Regions from separate parts of the Homo sapiens genome. Here region 2 is linked to region 1. Evidence: promoter capture Hi-C in human tissues and cell types (Jung and others, 2019). All regions are on one chromosome and are shown on one strand. The core of a region is centred on a gene start or on the middle of the fragment in contact, and the rest is flanking DNA. Distances in the headings are between cores, read along the strand shown.

Region 1 (2,752 bases), core at 143-2,642:
AAGAGTGATTCATTCTTAAAGTTGATTCTGCTTAGTTCAGCTAATCTCACATTTTTATCAAATGGAAACATAGAGAGAGATGTATCATCCCTATAAACAGATAGCATTGGCTTCTTCATATATACAGTACTTATGCTCACCCAAGATCTGTAGACAGATCTACTCTGTGTTAAAAAACAAAACCAAACAAAAACCTTGATACCCTGCTGGAGGATAAATCCATATTTTTTAAAAAATGTATTTATTTTCTACGTAAAATAAGGGTCAGAGGGCAACACAGAAGATTTCCACAAGTAGACTATTTTGTTGAAGCTATGCAGGAGGTGAGGAGGGGAACAGGAAATTGTCTGCAAAGGAGTCTCTGTGAGGAAGATTTATTTCTTTCTTGTTTTCTTTTAAGCTACTATGACTCCTCTATTAAGGGTCTCCGTAAGACCGGGGTCTCAGGGAGACAATTTGGTCTCCAGCCCTGGCACATCCAGCCCCGGCCAGGCATTTCTGCCGCAGGCAGATGAGGCGCTGCGGCCGGACCGCTGTCCCCGGTGCTGAAAGGTCGAGGGCGCCCGCGCGAGCCCTCGGTGTTGCTATCCAGGGTGCTGAGCGCGGGCCGCCGCAGTCCCCGAAGCCAGCCCACCCGCGCCAGCCCTCCGCAGAGCCCTCCCACCCGGCACGACCCGCCCGCCTCCCGCCAGCCTGCAGTTGACGTGGAGCAGGCGGCATAAATCAAGTCCGCGGGGCATGGAGGCTGCTGTCGCTGCAGCAGCTCAGCTTGCCCGGGGCGGGAACTCCCCCTTTCTCCTTTCGCCTCCCCAGCACCCACACCCTGTCTCCCCCTTAATTCTTCCCTGGATAATAGCACCCTAACGACAACAGTCATAATAATAGGGTTAGAACGACAGGGGAGGAAAACTCAACAGCCTAAATATCTCTGAAAACTGCATCGCAAAATGGAAGAAAGAGGGGGTCCCACTACTGTTTCAAAAGAGTAAGTTATTATTCGGTACGTACCCTCGCTCTTCCTCCCCGTCGCTCCATTTGCAGGGCTCCCGTTTCCCTTTTCCCCAGCAGCTCACCTCGAAAACACTTTATAAAGCCCCCACCAGACGTGCACACACGGAATACCGCACCCTAAGTGCACCAATACTTGTATTTACCCAAGCCCACTCGGACTGCCCAGCTGCTGTCCCTTCTGGGTATGCAGCCATCCCGAGCCAGAGCCACGACCTGGGGAGGGGGGTTCTTACCTGGGCTTCTCGGGAGGGTTGTGTTCTCCGGGCCTCTGCAGGTTGCAACTGTGGTGGAGCCGCCGAGCAGGGAGGGAAGGAAAGACAGCGCCTGACCTCCCCGAGGTTTCGTCTTCAATGCAACGTGAGCTCTGCCCTCATCAAAGATGGCCGTCCGTTTTGACGTCAGCAGCTTTTAATAGCCGCCCAGCGAGGGGCGGGAGGAAGTGGGGGCGGGGCACGGCGGGGGCGGGGGCGGGGCCCGGGCTGCGGCGCGCTTGACTCGGTTCCCAGTGCGCTGGCCTGCAAACCTGCGTGTTTTCACCTTCTATAAACACCCGCACGGGGCGACTCTTATGACTCCATTTTAACACTCGGTCTTGGGCAAACGCGTTCATCCCGCAACTGCATTCCTGATGTTCTTTGGTGTGTGTGCGTGTGTGTGTACATATGTGTATATGTGTGTGTATGTATATATGTATGTGTGTGTATATTTTATAATACATGTATAATATATGTATAATTTGTGTGTATGTGTATATATTCCCCCCCACCCCCACCCCCACCCCCTTTCAGTGGAATCTGTGGTTGAGTCATCTAAGGAGAGGGGAAGGCAGAGGAGGGGTAAAAGGTAGTGATGGGAGGGGTGGGGGAAATTTCAGCGGCGATTTGTTTTCTCCGAAGAGGGTCCGTAGGGGCATCCCCGTCCACCCTCGCCAGCTCCATATATGGCCAGGCTACGTGGGTTGCTATTTTTATGAGTGATTGCTTCATGTTATCGAAGCAGCGTCGAGGGCTTGTGGCTCTCGTTGCTGTGGTCAGCCGGGCAGCGAGGCTGGCGCACGTTATTTTGAACTACGTCAGAGCCAGGCTCTCTGAGCTGTTGCAGGAGTCGGGGGAAGGAGAAGGGAAGCGGAGTTAGCCCAGCCAGCGTGGGTTTGCAAGGACTCGAGGCTTGAAGTTGAGTTGTTTGCCGAGGGCAAAAACGGATGACTCTGCTTTCGGTGGAATTTGCAGTCGGTGCTGGGGTTTCATGCTGGGTGTCTTAGGGGTACCCCACGGAGGCACAGACGCCCCGAGGGAACCGTCCAAACGGCCGGGAGGAGGTGGGGGATTCAGAGCAAGGACGGCTGGGACACGGCCGAATCTGGGGGTTCACTCAGTGCGCAAACCCCGGGGTACCCGTGCAGGCTGCCTCGGGGGGCCCTCGGATGCTCAAATCAGGGCGGGGAGACAAAGGCTACTTGTGCTGGTCGTATTAGAGATTAAAAGTGATAATTATAAAGCAACAACCCTAACTGTCCTCCCTGGCCGTGCCCGGGCCCGGGAAGGGGGTGGTGCGCGGATCGCTCGGCGGTGGCAGCCTCCCGGATGATTCACAGGTGTTGGGGAGGCTGTCGCGGGGCTCTCCGCAGGGAGGGAGGGCTGGGGAGCGCGTGGGAGGTGGGGGACCTCGTCTGAGGAACTGTTTGTACTTTTCCGGGAAGGATGCGATTAGAAGTCGTGCCTCGCAATGTTAAAACTTGATG
Region 2 (2,752 bases), core at 66-2,565, 260 kb after region 1:
CCATGAGTAAATTACTTAACCCCTTTGGGCATTTCATTCTTTGCATGTAAGATGAGATCTAGAAGTTTTCAGTGAAATAATGCATTACATGAATCCACACTAGGCATATTGTCAAGTCAGTTCCTTTTCTCTGAGCCAATGCAGGCTTGGCTTGGCCTTGATGGCAATACCTGCTACTCCCTTTGGCCAGGGCCTGCCTTTATGTTGCAAGGTGATGGCTGTAGGGGGTGCATGGATGATCCCCTGTCCCACCACACTCATGAGGATTCTAGCCCTGAATATGCTGCCAACTGTCTTCACTACCCAGGAACTTAGGCTAAAGTAAGGCTATGGTCCATTTTTTCAATGCCATACTCAAACACTTAATTAAAAAAATTGTTTTAGATGTATGTGTTATTTAAGAGCTTGTAGTTGCTCTTATCCTCCAACCATATGTAAAGTAGCACAATCACCACAGCTTATCACTAGGAGAGGCTGGAAATAATATCTTGGGAAGAAATTCAATTCCCTTTGCTTTCTCCGCCCATTCCAGAGCAGATGCATGTTTGCTTGATATAATGAATTTGGTGACAAACAAACTGGTAGATGTTATCTCATGTAATTTTGGGATATTGTTTCGTTAGTGGGTCAAACAAGGATTCACTGTTTCCCATTTTCTCACCCATATCTTTGCCCAAATTTATTTATTTTTCCTCCTATTTACTCTTTTGCTGGAAATATTTTGACATTTCAACTTCCTAATAGAGATATGTGATTGAAAACAATCATTTTCTGTCCCTCTGTAAACCTTATTCATGTAACAGTAAACCAATTGTTTTTTATTATACTTTAAGTTCTGGGGTACATGTGCAGAACGTGGAGGTTTGTTACGTAGTTATACATGTGCCATGGTGGTTTGCTGCACCCATCAACCCATCACCTACATTAGGTATTTCTCCTAATGTGCTTCCTCCCCTAGCCCCCAACCCCCGACAGGTCCCCATGTGTGATGTTCCCCTCCCTGTGTCCATGTGTTCTGATTGTTCAATTCCCACTTATGAGTGAGAACATGTGGTGTTTGGTTTTCTGTTCTTGTGTTAGTTTGCTGAGAATGATGAGTAAACCAATTTAAAAAAAAAAAGGAGTAAGACCTACTAGTACAAGGGACAGGAGAGGCAGCTACAACATAAAATATTGGAAGCTAGAAAATGGGTGAATCAGAAGAACCTGACTTAGCAAACCAAAGAAGGTCAAGTGATAAGCCTCAAGTGGGGACTGAGGAGAAGCAGTCCAATTAGCAGCCACTGACCTCCAGCAGGCTCAGAAGTTGGCAGTACTGGGTATCCCTGGAAGTGGGGAAGAAGGTGGCGCCATAACAGGGGATTGATTGGAAGTCTCTTGAGTTCAATTGCAAGATCCTACAGTCCATTCTTTGTGGCCAGGCAATCATCTTTCTTCATTCTGGTAAAATACCGGAAGTTTAGTAGTGGGAGAGGGTAACTGAAAAGTCTCTGGGCTGGAGGGTTGGAGGTACAGTGAAAACAGGAAGGTCCAGGCCTGCATCTGACGTTTTCAGAGCCCAAAGCAAGAGTATTCATGGGAGCTGTGGCCCTGGCCTCCCTTCCTTGCCTTCACACCCTGATTTCTTTCTTGACTGTCAGGGCCTTGAATGAGCACCTGTGGACACCCAGCCCTCCTGTGCAAGCTCTATCAGACTCCTGCAAATGGACACTCTTGTATATCTCTTGGTTTCAGGGGTGCATACACTGGTTGGTAAAATTGTTCATCCTCAGAGGGACAGACTGAGGGAACAGGCCCACATAGTCCCTGGAAGCAAGCTTGAGGCCACTTGGCAGAATTCTGAAACACAGTCTACAAACGGGGGATGGTGCCCTTGGCTATGGGAAAAGGTATCAACAAAGAAGGGCCAGAGAAAGGTCCTTTTAAGAATGTTGTCCAGGCTAAAGTGACTGTCTTGGTTTGCCTGGAACCATACTGGTTTTAGCACTAAAAGTCTCACATCCCAGCAGACTCCTCAGTCCAGGGCAAACCATGATGTTTGGTTATCCTTCCAGCTTAGTGGTGGTCCTGTATTTGCATACTTAACTCTGAGATCTCCAGCCTTCTTTTCCCATTTATTTCCCAGAGTGCTGGCAGCAAGGCCTATATCATCCAGGTACAAAATTAAAAGTTTTTCTCTGGGGAATTTGAGCAGCCCAAGGAGAAAGAGCTAAGAACTCTGACTTTAAAGATTATCTCAGAAACCTCCCTTAGACACCTCCATGGTAAAGCCCAGAGTTAACAAAGCCCATCCACTGGTTCAGAGCATCTAATGAGCTTTCAGGGCCCTAGGTTTAAACATAAGCAGATTGTTGAGGATCACTAGACACTTAGGAAATTCTTTATCATAAAAGATTAAGACCAAAATAAATAGACCAAAAAAAAAAATCTATTTGGAGAAAACATATTATGCAATGAGAAGAAATTTTAAAACACCTACATTAATATGCTCAAATCATAAAAGAAAATATTGTATTTATGAACAATAGAAGAAGATATTAAAAGAAAACTTCAAATCATTTTTTTTAAATGTTAGAAATTAAAATGTGAGAACAAACTTAAAAACTCCATGGAAGTATCAGAAAATAAAGTTGAAAATGTTTCCACAAATGAAAGAATGTAAAGATAGAAATGGAAATAGGAGAGGAAAAAAAAGAAATACTCCCACAAGATCTGAAAGCAAAAAGAAAAGAAAAGAAAGAGAGAAAGAGAA

What was found. The method cuts DNA at HindIII sites, captures the fragments that hold promoters and counts their contacts. A contact is called where the count stands out against the background at its distance.
Region 2: a fragment that was not itself captured here is called in contact with the fragment with the promoter of SNAP25 in region 1 in 1 of the 25 tissues and cell types used here (stomach).

Annotation. Positions count from the first base shown.
Region 1 is chr20:10,217,470-10,220,221 of GRCh38, reverse strand. SNAP25 (synaptosome associated protein 25) reads right to left here and starts at 1,392. Exons shown (of 8, transcript NM_130811.4): 1 at 1,245-1,392. SNAP25-AS1 (SNAP25 antisense RNA 1) reads left to right here and starts at 716. Exons shown (of 5, transcript NR_040710.1): 1 at 716-985. The HindIII fragment of the contact is 5,357 bases long and covers 1-2,752 here.
Region 2 is chr20:9,958,934-9,961,685 of GRCh38, reverse strand. No RefSeq gene overlaps it. Among named protein-coding and RNA genes, the nearest start is that of PARAL1, 26 kb to the left of the region's middle. The HindIII fragment of the contact is 7,805 bases long and covers 1-2,752 here.